Regions from separate parts of the Homo sapiens genome. Here all the other regions are linked to region 4. Evidence: promoter capture Hi-C in human tissues and cell types (Jung and others, 2019). All regions are on one chromosome and are shown on one strand. The core of a region is centred on a gene start or on the middle of the fragment in contact, and the rest is flanking DNA. Distances in the headings are between cores, read along the strand shown.

What was found. The method cuts DNA at HindIII sites, captures the fragments that hold promoters and counts their contacts. A contact is called where the count stands out against the background at its distance.
Region 1: a contact is called between a fragment that was not itself captured here and the fragment with the promoter of ZNF808 in region 4, in 3 of the 25 tissues and cell types used here (adrenal gland, lymphoblastoid cells and mesendoderm cells).
Region 2: a contact is called between a fragment that was not itself captured here and the fragment with the promoter of ZNF808 in region 4, in 2 of the 25 tissues and cell types used here (H1 embryonic stem cells and stomach).
Region 3: a fragment that was not itself captured here is called in contact with the fragment with the promoter of ZNF808 in region 4 in 9 of the 25 tissues and cell types used here (H1 embryonic stem cells, adrenal gland, aorta and 6 more).
Region 5: a contact is called between a fragment that was not itself captured here and the fragment with the promoter of ZNF808 in region 4, in 2 of the 25 tissues and cell types used here (hippocampus and neural progenitor cells).
Region 6: the fragment with the promoter of ZNF880 here is called in contact with the fragment with the promoter of ZNF808 in region 4 in 1 of the 25 tissues and cell types used here (liver).

Annotation. Positions count from the first base shown.
Region 1 is chr19:52,317,111-52,320,077 of GRCh38, reverse strand. The region is part of intron 4 of ZNF480 (zinc finger protein 480); the gene reads right to left. Among named protein-coding and RNA genes, the nearest start is that of ZNF610, 18 kb to the left of the region's middle. The HindIII fragment of the contact is 6,068 bases long and covers 1-2,967 here.
Region 2 is chr19:52,701,828-52,705,145 of GRCh38, reverse strand. ZNF611 (zinc finger protein 611) reads left to right here. Exons shown (of 6, transcript NM_001161499.2): 6 at 1-2,333. The coding sequence ends at 209. Among named protein-coding and RNA genes, the nearest start is that of ZNF611, 32 kb to the left of the region's middle. The HindIII fragment of the contact is 3,945 bases long and covers 1-3,318 here.
Region 3 is chr19:52,671,693-52,674,922 of GRCh38, reverse strand. All of the region lies in intron 1 of LOC122539214 (Zinc finger protein LOC122539214), which reads left to right. It also overlaps a transcript of ZNF83 not described here. Among named protein-coding and RNA genes, the nearest start is that of ZNF83, 35 kb to the right of the region's middle. RefSeq lists an enhancer at 414-913. The HindIII fragment of the contact is 8,097 bases long and covers 1-3,230 here.
Region 4 is chr19:52,525,692-52,529,098 of GRCh38, reverse strand. It overlaps ZNF808 (zinc finger protein 808), which reads right to left and starts at 1,431. Exons shown (of 5, transcript NM_001039886.4): 1 at 1,388-1,431. RefSeq lists enhancers at 1,158-1,985, 1,986-2,812. The HindIII fragment of the contact is 14,459 bases long and covers 1-3,407 here.
Region 5 is chr19:52,745,133-52,748,579 of GRCh38, reverse strand. All of the region lies in intron 1 of LOC105372452 (a long non-coding RNA gene), which reads right to left. Among named protein-coding and RNA genes, the nearest start is that of ZNF611, 12 kb to the right of the region's middle. The HindIII fragment of the contact is 5,759 bases long and covers 1-3,447 here.
Region 6 is chr19:52,368,512-52,371,590 of GRCh38, reverse strand. It overlaps ZNF880 (zinc finger protein 880), which reads right to left and starts at 1,668. Exons shown (of 4, transcript NM_001145434.2): 1 at 1,614-1,668. The coding sequence starts at 1,625. RefSeq lists enhancers at 1,227-1,366, 1,567-1,676, 1,687-1,986. The HindIII fragment of the contact is 7,170 bases long and covers 1-3,079 here.

The DNA.
Region 1 (2,967 bases), core at 93-2,592, 210 kb after region 4:
TTGGGAGGCCAAGGCAGGAGGATCACTAGGTCAGGAGTTTGAGACCAGCCTGACCAACATGGTGAAAGCCTGTCTCTACTAAAAATACAAAAATTAGATGGACATGGGGGCATGCACCTGTAATCCCAGCTACTCAGGAGGCTGTGGCAGGAGAATCGCTTGAACCTGGGAGGCAGAGATTGCAGTGAGCCAAGATGGAGCCATTACACTCCAGCCTGGGCTACAGAGCAAGACTCTAATTTAAAAAAAAAAAAAAAAAAAAAAAACACAGTATCAGCTACAAAGACCAAAAACAAAAAACAGAGAAGAAAAGCAAATAAACGCTAATACATTTTTCGGATGCTCTCAAGCACAACAACATACAAATTATTAGAGGTTCACAAGGAGAAGACAGAGGATCAGAAATTGCAACTGAAGAAATAATGTCCAAATAATTGTCCAAATCCCAATTCTGAAGAAAGACCTGAATATACAATTCAAGAAGCTTGACCATTCAAATTAAAATGAACCCAAGGACATTCACACAGAGATACATTATAAGCAAATTATCAAACATCAAAGACAGAGGAAGAATTTTGACAGGAGCAACAAAAAAGATATTTGCCATTTAGAGGAAAAGGTATAAGACTATGTACTTTCTCCAGCGGAAACTTTGCCTGCCAGAAGGCAGTGAGATGACATATTGAAAGTGCTTAAAATCAACCAAGAATACTATATTTAGCAAAAGTCACCTGCAAAAATAAAGGAGAAATTTAGATTTTCCTCGATAAAGAAGAGCTAAGAAAGTTCATTACTACTCTAGACCTGTCCAACAAGAAATGCTACAGGGAGCCCTTCAAAATGAAATAAAAGGATTCCAGACAGTACTGGTAACCCAAATGAGAGGATAAAATTCTCCATTAAAGTAAAAAATGACCCAGGTGTGGTGGCTCACACCTGTAATCTCAGGGTTCTGGGAGGCCGAGGCGGGCAGATTGCTTGAGGTCAGGAGTTTGAGACCAGACTGACTAACGTGGTGAAACCCCATCTCTACTAAAAATACAAAAATTAGCCAGGCATGGTGGCACATGCCTGTAATCCCAGCTACTCGGGAGGCTGAGGCAGGAGAATCACTTGAACCCAGGAGGCAGAGGTTGCAGTGAGCCAAGATCTCACTGCTGCACTCCAGCTTGGATGACAGAGCGAGAATCCATCCCCCCATGCAAAAATGAAAAAAAAAGCAAGAATAGAGAAGCCAGAAACAAACCCTCAAATACTTGGTAGAATAATGTTCAATCAAAATGTCAAGACCATGTAACAAGGAAAGGACAGTCACTTCATCAAATAGTGCTGAAGAAAAAGGATGCCCACAAGCAAAGGAATGAGGCTGAACCCTTACTTTACACCCCATGCAAAAATTAACTTAAAGTCTATTCATGACCTAAAACGATAAAACTCCTAGAAAAAACCATAGGTAAAAAGCTTCATGAGATTGGATTCAACATTTCCCCAGATATAAAATTGATAGTACAGGAAAGAAGGTAAATATACACACGATGCACTATGACAAAATTGAGAACTATTGTGGATAGAAGAAAACAATTACCACAATGTAAAGAAAACCTACCATATGTGAGAAAATATTTGCATATCATATCTGTGATAAAAACTTAATATCTAAAATATATATAGGCCGGATGTGGTGGCTCATGCCTGTAATCCCAGCACTTTGAGAGGCTGCAGCAGGTAGATCACCTGAGGTCAGGAGTTCAAGACCAGCCTGGCCAACATAGTGAAACCCCATCTCTATTAAAGATACAAAAATTTAGCCAGGCATGGTGGTGTGCACCTGTAATCCCAACTACTTGGGAGGCTGAGGTGGGAGAATTGCTTGAACCTGGGAGGCGCAGGTACCAGTGAGCCGAGATCACGCCACTGCATCCAGCCTGGGTGACAGAGCAAGACTCCGTCTCAAAAAATAAATAAATAATTATTTAAAATAATAAAATAAAAATATATAAATAAGTCCTACAAAGCAAAACAAATAACGAATTAAGAAATGTGGAAAGAAATACACATTTTTCCAAAGGTGATATACGACCATATAAGAAAATGCAAAATATCACAAATCATTAGAGAGAAATGCAAATAGAAAACTGAATATTTTTCCTCACACCAATAAAGAATATCACCTCACACCCATATAGAATACGTTTTGTCAAGAAAAGGGAAAAAAATGAAACACCAGAAAATCACAAGTGTTGTCGAAAATATGGAGAAATAGGAGAATTTTGTGCCACTGTTGGTGGAAAATTGAAATGGTGCAGTCACTATGGAAACAAGTATGACATTTTCTCAAAGAATCCAAAATCAAATGATCAGTATAGGCAACAATTCCACATCTGGGTATAAAGATAAAAAAGAAAAAGGCCAGGCGCACTGGCTCACACCCTTAATGTTACTACTTTGGGAGGCCTAGGCAGGCAGATCACCTGAGGTGAGGAGTTCGAGACCAGCCTAGTCAACATGGTGAAACCCTGTCTCTACTAATAATACAAAAATTAGCTGGGCGTGGTGGCACACACCTGTAATCCCAGCTGCTCAGGAGGCTGAGGCAGGAGAACTGCTTGAACCCAGGAGGTGGAGGTTGCAGTTAGCCGAGATTGCACCATTGCACTCCAGCCTGGGCAACAAAAGCGAAACTCCATCTCAAACAAACAAATGAAAAATAAAATGAAAGTAAACACAGCATCTTGAAGAGATACTTAAAAACCCATGGTCAAGGCCAGGCACGATAGCTCACGCCTATAATCCCAGCACTTTGGGAGGCTGAGGCAGGTAGATCATGAGGTCAGGAGTTCAAGACGAGCCTGGCCAATATGGTGAAACCCTGTCTCTACTAAAAATACAAAAACTAGCTGGGTATGGTGGTGTGCACCTGTAGTCCTAGCTGTTTGGGAGGCTGAGGCAGGAGAATCGCTTGAACCC
Region 2 (3,318 bases), core at 151-2,650, 180 kb before region 4:
TTATATACCATCGTAGACTTCATACTGGAGAGAAATCTTACAAATGTACAATTTGTGACAAGGCTTTCGTGCGTAATTCACTCCTGTCAAGACATACCAGAATTCACACTGCAGAGAAACCTTACAAGTGTAATGAATGTGGGAAGGCTTTTAATCAACAATCACACCTTTCACGTCATCATAGAATTCATACTGGAGAGAAACCTTAGAAATGTGAAGCATGTGACAAAGTTTCCATTTGGAAATCACACCTTAAAGACATAGGAGAATTTATACTGGAGAGAAAGCTTACAAATGTAAGGTTTCTGACAAGACTTGGGAGTGATTCACACCTGGAACAACATACTGGACTTCACACTGGAGAGAAACCTTACAAGTGTAATGAGTGTGGCAAAGCCTTTGGCAAGCAGTCAACACTTATTCACCATCAGGCAATTCATGGTGTAGGGAAACTTGACTAATGTAATGATTGTCACAAAGTCTTCAGTAATGCTACAACGATTACAAATCATTGGAGAATCCATAATGAAGAGAGATCTTACAAGTGTAATAAATGTGGCAAATTTTTCAGAGATCGTTCACATATTGCAGGTCATCGGTGAACTCATACTGGAGAGAAACCTTACAAATGTCATGACTGTGCCAAGGTCTTCAGTCAAGCTTCATCCTATGCAAAACATAGGAGAATTTATACAGGAGAGAAACCTCACAAGTGTGATGATTGTGGCAAAGCCTTTGCTTCACGTTCACACGTCATTAGACATCAGAGAATCTATACTGGACAGAAATCTTACAAATGTCATCAGTGTGGCAAGGTCTTCAGTCCAAGATCACTCCATGCAGAACATCAGAAAATTCATTTTTGAGATAACCGTTCCCAATGAAATGAGTATAGCAAACCATCAAGCATTAATTGACATTGGAGTCAATTCAGCATTGACTTGAGTTTGTGTTGACTTAACATTGAGTTCAAGCCTTTATTGACATTCAAGTGTTTATGTTAAGAGGATGGGGCCAGGTGTGGTGGCTCCGACCTGTAATCCCAGCACGTCGGGAGGCCAAGGCACATAGGTCACTTGAGGTCAGGAGTTTGAAACCAGCATGGCCAACAGATGTGAGCCACTTTTCTCAGCCTGTTTTTTGTTTCTTATTTTCTATTATTTTTTTGAGCCAGTACTTTTTAAAGAGATAGTACTTTTTTCAGTTAGTACTTTTTGAAAGGGATATATCATAGTAATTTTTAAAAGGGATATGAGGCCAGGCACGGAGGCTCATGCCTATAATCCCAGCACTTTGGGAGGCCGAGGCAGGCAGATCACGGGGTCAGGAGATCGAGACTTTCCTGGCTAACAGGGTGAATCCCTGTCTCTACTAAAAATACAAAAAATTAGCTGGGCATGGTGGCTGGCGCCTGTAGTCCCAGCTACTCCAGATGCTGAGGCAGGAGAATGGCATGAACCTGTGAGGCGGAGCTTGCAGGGAGTCGAGATCGCACCACTGGGCTCCAGCCTGGGCGACAGAGTGAGAGTCTATCTCAAAAAAAAAAAAAAAAAAAAGGATATCAAAGCCTCGGTACGTGGTGGCTCATCCCTGCAATCAGAGTACTTTGGTCGACCCATGTGAACTGGTCACCTAAGGTCACAATTTCAAAAGCACCCTAACATGGTGAAACCCCATCTCTACTAAAAATACAAAAGTTAGCCGGGGGTGTTGGTGTGCACCTTTAGTTCCAGCTACTTGGGAGGCTGGGGCATGAGAATTGCTTAAACCTAGGAGGTAGAAGTTGCAGTGAACCAAAATTGTGCCACTATACTGCAGCCTGGGTGGCAGAGTGAGTCTCCATCTCAAACAAACAAAAAATAACAAAAAAAGACCTCAAAAATGCTTTTCTTCTCGTATAATGGACTTCCTTCTTTTTCTTTCTGGTTCCTCTTCATTTCTCTCTTTATTTTTTATTTATTTATTTATTTATTTTGCAGTTTGAGTTTGAGATAAATCTAAGTTATAAAAGTTGTATTTCTTAATACATAATGACTTCTGAAAGATGCCTTTGCAGCATCCTATAATCAGCTCACATCATTCGTTTCTGTACTTGTATATTTTCCAGTTATTTTCCGGTTGACCCCAGAATTCGTTAGATTTTTTTAAAAAACAATTTCAAAATAGTTGCTGTTTTAAATTAGTTGCATCCAGTTCATATCAATGTCTGCATGCTTTCTAGTCTTTGTTATTTATTGAAAACCTTTGGTACCTAAACTTAAGTTTGATTGTTTCAGTGTGTACTTGGTAAATATGTCAGTGGCCTTTTAACTAAACATCAAAATGTACTTTAACCAGTTAGTCTGTTTTTCAGTTTTCTTTCCTTATGTCCTTTGTTAAAATCTTGATCTGGGAGCTATTTATTGCGTGTTTCCCTCAAGGCCCTCTGGTCCATTCTGGAAAAATGTTGAAACATGGGCTGGATTGGCATAGAACGCTCCTCCAAAAGCACCCGTGTATTCTTTTCTTTTCTTTTTTGAAATGGAATCTTGCTCTGTCGCCTTGGATGGAGGGCAGTGGTGCAATCTCAGCTCACTGCAACCTCTGCCTCCTGGGATCAAGTGATGCTCCTGCCTCAGTCTCCTGAGTAGCTGGAATTACAGGCACCCACCAGCATGCCTGGCTAATTTTTGTATTTTTAGTAGAGACGGGGTTTCATCACGTTTGTCAGGCTGGTCTCAAATCCTGACCTTGTGATCCACCCGACTTGGCCTCCCAATGTGATGAGATTACAGGTGTGAGCCACTGCTCCCAGCCTCGGTTTTTTTTTTGTTTTTCTTTTTGTTTTTTTGGGGGTTTTTTTTTGAGATGGAGTTTTGCTCTTGTTGCCCAGGCTGGACTGCAATGGTGCGATCTGGTGTCACTACAACGTCTGCCTCCTGGGTTCAAGTGATTCTCCTGCCTCAGCCTACCAAGTAGTTGGGATTACAGGTGCCCTCCACCACTCCTGGCTAGGTTTTTGCATTGTCAGTAGAGACAGGCTCTCACTGTGTTGGCCAGGCTGGTCTCAAACTACTGACTTCTGGTGATCTGCCCACCTCGACCTCCCAAAGTGCTGGGATTACAGGCGTGAGCCACCGTGCCTGACCACTCATGTATTCTTGATTGAAACAATTTGCTTATGTCTTAGTTGTACACCTGACCTTCTTTCCCTGTTTCCAAGGTCAATAGCTATGTGTTCACAACTCTGCATTTTATAAATGTTACTGTGATTTTCTTGTAAGGAAGAACAAACTGTCAGGAGTCAATGGCCTCAGAACCTTGCAAAAGAAGTTTGTT
Region 3 (3,230 bases), core at 500-2,999, 150 kb before region 4:
AGAGGTTAGCCACTTTTCCCAGCCGGTTTTTTGTTTCTTTGACAAAAACTGATAGGGATTTGTATGGGCGTTGTGTTAAATCTAAATCATCTTGGGTTGTATAATCATTTAACGAGATTAAGTTTTCCAATCTATCAATATTGGTTGTATCTCTATGTTTTTAATCATTTTGATCAATGTTCATAGATTTCAAGGTAGAAACTTCTCGCATTTTTACGTTTATTCCTAAGTATATCTTAGTTTAAATTCTCTAGAAAATGGAAGTGTTTTCTTAATTTCCTTTTAAAATTTTTTACTGTTATTGCATGGAAATTCAACTAATTTTGGTGCTAATATTGTACTCTGCAAATCCACTGAATGTTTATTAGTTCCACTTGTATTTTGGTTGAGTCTTTGTGACTTTCTACACAGAGGATCGTGTCATCTACAAACAAATAAAATTTTATTTATTTCTTTCTGATTTGGATGAGTTTGATTTCTTTTGCTATTTCATTGCTCTGGCTAGGACAGTCAGTATTGATTGAATAGAAAGGGTGAGAACGTTCTAGCATCATGTGAGATCCTACAGGAAAAGCATTCAATTTTTCCTGATTGGTTATTTCAGCTGTGGTCATTTCATGGATGGTCTTTTATATTGTTGAGGTAAATTTCCTTCTTTATTTTGTTTAGGGTTTCTATGATGACAGGATGGTCCTAAGTCTTCACACATCAGGGCCACAGCCCCAACCTCACAGGAAACAGGTGATCTTTTGAAAGGCTTAAGGCCCAAGAGTTCATTTGAGGGCTTTTTAACCTGTGGATTTGGTCTAGAGCCATATCAGAGGGTTGTGTCTGTGTGAGTGTGCAAATGTGTGGTGCTTTCCAAGTTCAGTTGACATTGGTAATTTTTTTTTTTTTTTTTTTTTTTGAGATGGAGTCTCACTCTGTTACCCAGGCTGCAGGGCAGTGGCATGATCTCGACTCACTGCGGCCTCCACCTCTCAGCTTCAACCAATTCTCCTGCCTCAGCCTCCCTAGTAGCTGGGATTACAGGCACACACCACCAGGCCCGGTTAATTTTTTGTATTTTTAGTAGAGATAGGGTTGCACCATGTTGACCAGGCTGGTCTCGAACTTTTGACCTGAGGTGATTGGCCCACCTCAGCCTCCCAAAGAGCCACTGCTCCTGGCCTAATAATTTTTTATTTATTTATTTTTTTGAGTTGGAGTCTCACTCTGTCACCCAGGCTAGAGTGCAGTTGCATGATCTCTGTCTCCAGAAAAAACAAAAAACAAAAAGATAATATTTGCATCGTTATTGGCTCATTTTTGATTACTTGGGAAAACAGCTTTCAAAAGCTTAAGGTTTTTAAATACATGTGACTTTCTATATTTTTTTTCTGATGTTCTGTTTATAGCATTTTGTGTGTGTGTGTGTGTGTGATGGAGTTACACTCTTCTTGTGTACCCTGGAGTGTAGTGGTGCGATCTCAGCTCACTGCAACCTCTGCCTTCTTGGCTCAAATGATTCTCCTGCCACAGCCTCCTGAATATCTGAGATTACAGGCATGCGCCATCACCCTCGGCTAATTTTGTATTTTTTTAGAGACAGGGTTATACCATGTTGGTCAGGCTGGTCTCGAACTCTTGACCTCAGGGGATCCACCCATCTTGGCTCCCAAAGTGCTGGGATTCAAGCATGAGCCACTGTGCCCAGCCATTTGTTTAGTTTTTTGAGATGGAGTCCAGCTCTTTCGCACAGTCTGGAATGCAGTGGTGCAATCTCCACTCACTGCAACCTCTGCTCCCTGGGTTTAAGTGATTCTCATGCCTCAGTCTCCTGAGTAGCTGGGATTACAGGCTCACATCCAGTTTTTTTTGTATTTTTGGTAGAGACAGGGCTTATAGGTTTGAGCCACCACACCTGGCCATCCCCATTTTTATATGTACAATTTAATCATTGACTACAGTCATTCTGTTGTGTTATGAAATAATAGGTCTTATTCTATTTTTTGTACCCATTATCATGTTCTATTTATTAATTATTTCTGATTAAAATAAACTTTTTTGCCATGCACGGTGGCTCATGTCTGTAATCCCAGCACTTTGGAAGGTCAGGATTTGGAGACCAGCCTGGCCAACACGGTGAAACCCCGTCTCTACTAAAAATACAAAAATTAACCCAGCATGATGGCGAGCACCAATAATCCCAGCTACCTGGGAGGCTGAGGCAAGAGAATCATTTGAACCCAGGAGGCAGATGTTGCAGTGAGCCGAGACCGTGCCATTGCACCCCAGCCTAGGCAACAAGAACCAAACTCAATCTCAAAAATAAATAAGTAACTTAATTAATTTTTAAAACATAAAGATGAGGTGCTATGTTGCCTAGGCTGGACTCCAACTGTTGGGCACTAGCCATCCTCCTGCCTCAGCCTCCCATCATGCTCGGATTACAGGCACAAGCCACCATGCCTGACGACATTATGCTTTTTTAAACTTGCTAATATTCTAGATATGCTAATTTCCCTTCTAAATGTAATCATATTTTAGCTAATTACTAGTGTTTGATAGATGAATTCTTCCATAGCTAGGGATGTGGGAGAAAAACATAGTTCATAGTACATGTTAACTTACAGATATAGTCATAAAAGTATTACATGCAGAAATGAGGTGATTTATAATTTCATTTTATTTTTATTTTTATTTTTTTGAGACAGAATCTCACTCTTTTGCTCAGGCTGGAGAGCTGTGGTGAGATCTTTGCTCACTGCAACCTCTGCCTCCTGGATTCAAGAGATTCTCCTGCCTCAATCTCCTGAGTAGCTGAGATTACAGTTTTGTGCCACCTTACCCAGCTAATTGTTGTATTTTTAGTACAGATGGGGTTTCACCATGTTAGCCAGGCTAGTCTCAATCTCCTGACCTCTGGGTCATCCACCTGCCTCGACCTCCCAAAGTGCTGGGATTACAGGTGTGAGTCAATGTGCCCAGCCAATTTTATAACTTAGTTATATTTTTTCAGGGCCCAAGTAAAACGGAATAACTTGACTGCAATGTATTCTTAGTAATATTTCATGATCTTTCTCTATATGAAAATAAATCCTAACATTTAAAGACTGCATATTTTATAGCCTTTGTTATTCCCACCTGATAGAACACTCAGGAGAGAATAACAAAGAAAACACCTAAAATAGATTGCAATTGGATGGGTGTGGTGGCTTGCCTGTAACCCCAACACTTTGGGAAGCAAA
Region 4 (3,407 bases), core at 182-2,681:
TAGCCCCCCTTTCTTCATTACTGCGCTTCCCTCCCTAATTCTGTACATATCTCTCATTCTCCCCCTTCTCTCTCTAGCTCTTGTTTTCTTTTCTTTCTCCCTGGGATTCTGCTCTTCATTTTGTACCCCTCTTCTCTTCTGCTGTTTATCCCCCTTCTTCCCTCTATTCCTTCTCTTCCATCTCTTCTGCTCCATCCTCGCAACTTATTTAACCTCTTATTGCTCCTTCTCCCCAATCTTTCAATCGTCCTCAATCTCCATCTATTTCTGCCTCTTCACCCATCTCTGCGCCTCCTCTGCTCTCCCTGTTAAATTCTCTCTTCCCTGATATACTCCCCTGTCCCCACTCTGTGTCACCCCAGATCCCCAGGTGTCCTCCCTGCTGTGTTTCTCCCTCGGTTCTCCTTGACACCAGCACCACTCTGCTCTGTCTGCCCTGGCTCCAAATCCCTCCCTCTCTCCCTCACTCTGATGAGCCTCCCTCTTTGCTGCCACTCTCCCTACCTTGCCGTCCTTCATCTCTGTGTACATCTAGCTTTTCTCTACATTTCTCCAGTTGCTTTTCTCCACCTGCTTTTCTAGGTATTTTGTTGCTTTCTTTTTCCACTTTCACCATATCTTGGCATATCCCTCACCAATCCTCTATTTTGCCATCTGTTATGGGCCTTTCTTATTCTTTCTCTGTCTCAGGTTTTCTACTGCTGTCTGTCTCCTGATCCCTTCGGCCCACACAATCGCAGGAGGGTTTGGAGTAAGACGCCTGCATCCCGGAGGAGCGCGTTTTCCAAGGGCTGGAGCTCGGCAGGCAAGAAGACCCCATGTCACAGGACAGGGCCCTGCGTCCTTCCCAGTGTGGGTTCAATGGAAGCGGTGACTGCGGAGGAGAGACCTGGGGAGCCGCAGGCTCTGGCACGAGTAGGGAGGTGGGAGGAGGGGGGACGGCGCCTTGGGAGAAGGATGGGGTCTGCAAGATCCCAGGACCAGGCAGAGGACGCGGCCTCCCTGGGACTGGGGCTGCGGCGCGACGCTCCAGGGGCCGACGAGGGGTGGCTGGGAGGTGCGCCCCGGGCAAGAATCCACCTCGTGGGTGAAGACTTTAAATAGCGCGAGGAGGGAAGAGTCAGAAGAAGGTTTTGAGCAGAAAAACTACGCAATAGAAAGTGTATACATTGCCCTATAGCAGACAGACCCGGGACGGGACCAGCCTCCAGACGACTTTAAACCCGAAAGGAAGCGACACCCGGCCTCTCACTGGGCTGTCTCAATTTGCTCTGGGCGAAGGAAGACGGGCGAGAATTTCCAGGTCTGTGGGGACCCCACGTCCCAGGGACAGAAGCGGCGGGGACCTGGGAAGCGGAGACTTAATGCAACACAGAGCAAAACTCACCATGGCGACGTGACCTTCACTCCACCCGATCCGCTTCCGGGTTTGCGTTAATCTCCGCGCGCAGGACGGAAGCCAGGCCTGGGCGGGAGGTGGGAGGAGGTGGGCGGGGCCTGGGCGAGGTAGCGGCGGGGCGCGAGGCGCTGAGACCTTGCCCTTTAGAACCGGCAGAGGGCGGGGCCGGGGCGGGGCCGGGGCGGGACTTGCGCGTCTTTCAGCCTCTCTCCTAGCGTCTCTGTTTTTAGGTTGTGGAGGCGAGAGCGCCAGAAAGTCTGAGGCATGATTCCAAAGCCCTGGAATTGTCTGGAACCGGGATGCAAACTAGAATGTGAAATGCAAAGCCCTGCCTGGGCGGCATGTACGATGTCATGGTGACGGCCCACGGAACAGAATAGATGTCCTCTCCCTTTCTATCTCCATTCACTAGGGAGGGAGAGTCCACCCTGAGCTCAGCTTCAGAGACTTCCTTAAAGCCACCGCCAGGGGTGCGGGACGGAGTGCTTAGGCCAGGAAGGAGTGAGGTCACCACCTGCTGCTTAAACACAGCAGAGGCGCGGGGGCGGGAGCCTCAGGTCCCAGCTACTCAGGAAGCAACGGAGAGAATTGCTGAGCCTGGGGTCCCAAGCCAGCCTGGGCGACAAAGTAACACCCACTGCGGCAGGTCTCCCTTCCTAGTCTCTCTCTCTCTCTTTCCCTTTTTTTTTTTTTGGAGACAGAGTCTCACTCCGTCGCCCAGGCTGGAGTGCCGTGGAGTGATCCCAGCTCACTAGAACTTCCGCCTCCTGGTTTCAAGCGATACTCCGGCCTCAGCCTCCCGAGTAGCTGGGACTACAGGCATGCGCCACCATGCCCAGTTAATTTTGTATATTTAGTAGAGACAGGGTTTCACCATGTTAGCCAGGCTGAACTCCCGACCTCAGGTGATCCGCCCACGTCGGCCTCCCAAAGTGCTGGGATTACAGGCGTGAGCCACCGCGCCCGGGCCTTTTCCCTTTTTAAAAAAAAAAAAAAAACTTTTTTAAATAAAATTTTTGATGGTGTGACATAGGGATCCAACATTACTCTTTTCCATGTGGATATCCAGTTAGTTGTCCCAGCACATTTGTGGAAGAGATCTATTACTTTATTATTATTATTATTATTATTACTATTATTGAGACACAGTATTTCTGTTGCCCAGGCTGGAGTGCAGTGGCGAGATCTCAACTCAATGCAGCCTCTGCCTCCTGGGTTCAAGCGATTCTCCTGCCTCAGCCTCGGGAGCAGCTGGCATTACAGGCGCGTGCCACGATGCCCGGTTAATTTTTGTATTTTTCATAGAGACGGGGTATCACTACGGTGACCTGGCCGGTATCGAACTCCTCACTTTAAGTTATTTGCCTGTGTCAGCCTCCCAAAATGCTGGGATTACATGCGTCAGCCAACATGCCTGGCCCAAGAAATATTCTTTACTTTGCTTTTTAAATGTTGACAAAATATAATTGAAAACTAAAAAATATTATCCCAAATGAGAAATCATCTCCACGACGATAACAGAGAAAGAAATAAAAACCATTTTGTTAATAAATAAACCTTAGGACCGGGCATGGGGGCTCACGCTTGTAATCCCAGCACTTTGGGAGGCTGAAGCAGGCGGATCACGAGGTCAGGAGATCGAGGTCATCCTGGCTAACATGGTGAAACCCCGTCTCTACTAAAAATACAAAAAAATTAGCCAGGTGTGGTGGCGTGCACCTGTGTCCCAGCTGCTGGGGAGGCTGAGGCAGGAGAATGGCGTGAACCCAGGAGGCGGAGCTGGCAGTGAGCCAAGATAGCACCACTGCACTCCAGCCTGGGTGACAGAGCAAGACTCGGTCTCAAAAAAAACAAAAAAAAAAAATCAGCCGGGCGTGGTGCCCAGCGCCTGTAGTCCCAGCTACTCGGAGAGGCTGAGGCAGAAGAATGGCGTGAACCCAGAAGGCGGAGCTTGCAATGAGCCGAGATCGCACCATTGCACTCTAGCCTGGGCGACAGAAGAGATTCC
Region 5 (3,447 bases), core at 767-3,266, 220 kb before region 4:
TCCTTAGAATTCTCCTGTGTTTGTAATTCAGAAAAAATCCAGCAGATGGTGTATGTTAACTGACTTAAGAGCCGTAAATGCCATCATTCAACCCATGGGGCCTCTTCAACTCGGGTTGTCCTCTCTGGTCATGATCCCAAAAGACTGGCCTTTAATTATAATTGATCTAAAGGATTGCTTTTTTACCATTTTTCTGGTGGAGAAAGATTTTGAAAAATTTGCCTTTACTATACCAGCCATAAATTATAAGGAACCAGCCACCAGGTCTCAGTGGAAAGTGTTACCTCAGGGAATGCTTAATAGTCCAACTATTTGTCAGACTTTCGTAGGTCAAGCTCTTCAACCAGTTAGAGATAAGTTTTCAGACTGTTATATCATTCATTATGTTGATGATATTTTGTGTGCTGCAGAAACAAGAGACAAATTAACTGACTGTTACACATTTCTGCAAGCAGAGGTTGCCAACGCAAGACTGGCAATAGCATCTGATAAGATTCAAACCTCTACTCCTTTTCATTATTTAGAGATGCAGATAGAAAATAGAAAAATTAAGCCACAAAAAGTAGAAATAAGAAAAGACACATTAAAAACATTAAATGACTTTCAAAACTTGCTAGGAGATATTAATTACATTCAGCCAACTCTAGGCATTCCTACTTATGCCATGTCAAATTTGTTCTCTATCTTAAGAGGGGACCCAGACTTAAATAGTAAAAGAATATTAACCCCAGAGGCAACAAAAAAAATTAAGTTAGTAAAAGAAAAAAATCAGTCAGCACAAAGGTCCCTTAACCCCACTCCAACTTTTGATTTTTGCTACTGCACATTCTCCAACAGACATCATTGTTCAAAATACTGATCTTGTGGAGTGGTCATTCCTTCCTCACAGTACAATTAAGACTTTTACATTGTTCTTGGATCAAATAGCTACATTAATTGGTCAGGCAAGATTACAAATAATAAAATTGTGTGAAAATGACGCAGACAAAATAGTTGTTCCTTTAAACAAGGAACAGGTTAGACAAGCCTTTATCAATTCTGATGCATGGCAGATTGGTCTTACTAATTTTGTGGGAATTATTGATAATCATTACCCAAAAACAAAAATCTTCCAGTTTTTAAAATTGACTACTTGGATTTTACCTAAAATTACCAGACATAAACCTTTGGAAAATGCTCTGACAGTGTTTACTGATGCTTCCAGCAATAGAAAAGCAGCTTACACAGGGCCAAAACAGCGAGTCATCAAAACTCAATATCAATCGGCTCAAAGAGCAGAGTTGGTTGCAGTCATTACAGTGTTATAAGACTTTGATCAACCTATTAATATTGTATCAGATTCTGCATATGTAGCGCAGGCTACAAGGGATGTTGAGACAGCTCTAATTAAATATAGCATAGATGATCAGTTAAACGAGCTGTTCAGTTTATTACAACAAACTGAAAAAAAAATTTCCCATTTCATATTACTCATATTTTAGCACACACTAATTTACCAGGGCCTTTAGCTAAAGCAAATGAACAAGCTGACTTACTGGTACCATCTGCATTCATAAAAGCACAAGAACTTCATGCTTTGACTCATGTAAATGCAGCAGGATTAAAAAACAAATTTGATGTCACATGAAAACAGGCAAAAGATATTGTACAACATTGCACCCAGTGTCAAGTCCTACACCTGCCCACTCAAGAGGCAGGAGTTAATCCCAGAAGTCTATGTCCTAATGCATTATGGCAAATAGATGTCACACATGTACCTTCATTTAAAAGATTATGATGTGTCCGTGTAACAGTTGGTACTTATTCACATTTCATGTGGGCAACTTGCCAGACAGGAGAAAGTACTTCCCATGTGAAAAAACATTTATTATCTTGTTTTGCTGTCATGGGAGTTCCAGAAAAAAATCAAAACTGACAATGCACCTGGATACTATAGTAAAGCTTTCCAAAAATTCTGAAATCAGTAGAAAATTACACACAAAACAGGAATTCCCTATAATTCCCAAGGACAGGCCATAGTTAAAAAAACTAATAGAACACTCAAAACTCAGTTAAAGAGAAGGGGGAGACAGTAAGGAGTGTACCACTCCTCAGATGCAACTTAATCTAGCACTCTATACTTTAAATGTTTTAAACACTTATAGAAATCAGACTACTACCTCTGCAAAACAACATCTTACTGGTAAAAAGAACAGCCTACGTGAAGGAAAACTGATTTGATAAAAAGACAACAACAATAAGACATGAGAAATAGGGAAGGTGGTAACGTGGGGGAGAGGTTTTGCTTGTGTTTCACCAGGAGAAAATCAGCTTCCTGTTTAGATACCCACTAGACATTTAAAGTTCTACAATGAACCCATTAGAGATGCAAACAAACAAAAAAAAAAGCGCCTCCACAGAGACGGAAACACCGCAATCGAGCACCATTGACTCACAAGATAAACAAAATGGTGATGTCAAAAAAACAGATGAAGTTGCCATCCACCACGAAGGCGGAGCTGCCAACTTGGGCACAATTTAAAAGCTGACACAGTTAGCTTAAAAAAGCCTAGAGAACACAAAGGTGACACAAACTCCAGAGAACACGCTGCTTGCAGCTTTGATGATTGTATCAACGGTGGTAAGTCTCCCCACGCCTGCAGGAGCAGCTGCAGCTAATTATACCTACTGGGCCTATGTGCCTTTCCCGCCCTTAATTCGGGCAGTCTCATGGATGGATAATCCTATTGAAGTATACGTTAATAATAGTGTATGGGTACCTGGCCCCACAGATGATCGTTGCCCTGCCAAACCTGAGGAAGAAGGAATGATGATAAATATTTCCACTGGGTATCATTATCCTCCTATTTGCCTCGGGAGAGCACCAGGATGTTTAATGCCTGCAGTCAAAAATTGGTTGGTAGAAGTACCTACTGTCGGTACCACCAGTAGATTCACTAATCACGCGGTAAGTGGAATGTCACTCAGGCCACAGGTAAATTATTTACAAGACTTTTCTTATCAAAGATCATTAAAATTTAGGCCTAAAGGAAAGCCTTACCCCCAAAAAATCCCAAAGGATCAAAAGACACAAAAGTTTTAGTTTGGGAAGAATGTGTGGCCAATAGTGCGGTGATATTACAAAATGATAAATTCGGAACTATTATAGATTGGGCACCTCGAGGTCAATTCTACCACAATTGCACAGGACAAACTCAGTCATGTCCCAGTGCAGAAGTGAGTCCAGCTGTTAACAGTGACTTAACAAAAAGTTTAGCCAAACATAAGCACAAAAAATTGCCGTCTTTCTACCCTTGGGAATGGGGAGAAAAAAAAATCTCTACTCCAAGAACAAAGATAATAAGTTCTGTTTCTGGTCCTGAACATCCAAAATTATAGAGTCTTACTGTGGCCTCATACCGCATTAAAATTTGGTCTGGAAATCAAGCTATAGAAACAAGAGATCGT
Region 6 (3,079 bases), core at 419-2,918, 160 kb after region 4:
CAGCCTAGCAAACATGGTGAAACCCCATCTCTACCGAAAATAAAAAAATTAGCCAGGCGTACTGGTGGGCACCTGTAATCCCAGCTACTTGGGAGGCCGAGGCAGGACAATCACTTGAACCCGGGAGGCAGAGTTTGCAGTGACCTGAGATGGTGCCACTGCACTCCAGCCTGGGTGACAAAGCGAGACTCCAGCCTGGGTGACAAAGAGAGACTCCATCTCAGAAAAAGAAAAAAAAAAACATCAAACAATAACAGATCAGCATCAAAAGTAAATTGACAGACAATGACCTAACTGAGTATAGTTAAAATAAGTTCCGGGATTAAAATCAAGAAACTGTCGCACATGTATCCCCATAACAGGTTACTATCCTTACAGCCATAGACTCACTATCATAACAGTGTAGAACAATTTTAAGGTCATGAAAATATATAAGATGTAATTTCAACTGTTAAAAGATATAAGACGTATATAAACTGATGATGCGCCTTTGATAAAAACAATAGACTTGCTCATCTGTGCACTCATCCACACACATCACATGTACACACTTATTCATATACATATATACATTCACACACATATACTCTAGTAAACATATATGTGACAACTGAAAGAGTTGTCTGTCAATAACCTCTTTTTTAGATATTTGTCTTTGTTCGTTTTTTAATGTGTCCAGGTTGCAGTGCAGTGGCTTATTCATGGCACACTACAGCCTTGAATTCCTGGCCTCAAATGACACCCTCTCCGAGTAACTCGAATGACAAGCGTGCACCACTGTGCCTGGCTGTCGTTGTTTTTGCAAATGTGCATTTCAGCATGTTTGCAACAATAAAAATGTATAAACTGTGCTCAATTCAGTTTATAAACATTATTTCAAACTATTTCAAAAAGTCAGACCATGTAAAAACATAGAAACGAGAATTCCAATCTCTATTAAATACCCGTACTGAAACATATGTTTCAAAAATTGAGATGGGGGTCTCACTATGTTGTCCAGAGTGGTCTCAAACTCCTGTGCTCAAGGAATTCTCCAGCCTGGGCCTCCGGAGAAGATGGAATTCCAGCCCCGGCCCATAAATATTAGGTTGGTGCAAAAGTGATCGCGGTTTGCCATTACTTTTGCACTAACCTAATTTTGTCCACTAAATATTTATTTAGGTGTTAGCAAAAGCCCAATGGAGGCTGAAACATCACAATCAGCAGTAAACATCAGATCGATTTCCTCTCATTTAAGGCACAGAAAAGGGGGCAGGCCTGTGAAAAGAGGGCGAGGCTTGGGGGACCGGAAAGACGTGGATCCATCTCGCGGGTGAGAACTTTACGCAGCGCGGGCCGTGTCTAGGGGTCACTGAAGGATTTGAAGCAGGCAAACTCCGCGACAGGAGCTGTCTACATGGCCCTGTGGTGAAAGACCGGGGACAGGACCAGCCTCCGAGCGATTTTAACACTCAGGGAAGCGACCGCCAGACTCTCATTAGAACGTCTGAGTTTAGTCGGGGTGGAGGGAGCGATGCGGGGATTTCAAGGTCTGTGTGACCCCTGAGATGCCGGGTACAGAAGCGCGAGGGGACTCAGCATCCCAGATTTAATCTAAACAAAGGGAAACTCACACGCCGCAGCATGACCGTCACTCCACGTAATCTGCTTCCGGGTCTCCAGGAAACTGCGCGCGCAGCTGAGAGGCGAGGCGAGGCCAGGCCCGGGTGGGATTGGGCGGAGCCTGCGCTTCCCTCCGCCTCGCTCCCAGCTCGTCTCGTTTTGGAGGCTAGACCTGCCGTGGAGACTGGAAGAACTCAGCTATCTGGAAATAGATTGTGTCCCGGCAGAGGGAAAGTTTGTTGATGATTAGATCCAGGAAAATTCCTGCTATTAAAATTAATTTTAAATCGGCTGTAGGGGCGCTCGCATGTGGTCCTAGCTACCCGGATGCTGAGGTGGGAGGATCGCTTGAGCCCATGAGGTGGAGGCTGCAGTGAGCCGAGGTCGTGCGCTGCACTCCCGCCTGGGCATGAGAGAGAAACCTTGCGCCTAATAAATACATAATCATAAATAACAAATTGGAAATAAATAATTAAAATAAATAAATATAAATGAATAATAAACACTAGTTTCCGGAATTTTAAAGTCCTTGAATTGTTTATGAAGGGGATGCAAATTAAAATATGAAATGCAAAACCCTGCCAGGGCGGAATGTGCAATTTCCTTTTTTTTTTTTTTTTTTTTTTGGAGACAGAGTTTCGTTCTTTTGCCCAGGCTGGAGTGAAGTGGCGCGATCTCGGCTCACTGCAACCTCCGCCGCCTGGGTTCAAGCGATTCTCCTGCCTCAGTCTCCCGAGTAGCTGGGATTACAGGCGCCCACCACCACACCGGGCTACTTTTTTGTACTTTTAATAGAGACAGGGTTTCTCCATGTTGGCCAGGCTGGTCTTGAACTCCTGACCTCGTGATCCGCCTGCCTTGGCCTCCCAAAATGTTGGGATTACAGGCGTGAGCCACCGCACCCGGCCAAGTTTTTTTTTTTTTTTCATATTTATATTAATCCTAGTGTATACCTGCCATTGTCTTATGGACATACTCAGGTCACAACTTTTTTTTTTTTTTTTTTTTTTTTTTTGAGATGGTCTCCCTCTGTCTTTCAGGCTGAAGTGCAGACAGCTCACTGACTGCAGCCTCGACCTCCTGGCATCAAGTGATCCTCCCATCTCAGCCTCCCAAGTAGCTGGGACTACAGGCACACGCCACAATGCCCAGTCCCATGTCACAAAATTTTGTCTCCAAACAGCACTCATTTATTTGTCCCCTAAAGTTTTCACCAGAGCAAAACAGGGAAGAAATGTATTAAACATAGAATTTGGAGGCAATGTAGGAAAAAAATGTAAAAATATATATACATACAAAAAATATAAAAATATACATGCTAGGTGTGAATTGTAACTAAGTTTCCAGTATGGGTAGTGGGTATCCCCGCCCCAGCCCTACCCTTTAGCAATCATGACACCCCAAGCCAGTCACCTATCCCAGTTCTCTGAAGCCACTTTTGGACCAGCTGGAAAAGTATACCCTGCTTTCCCCCACA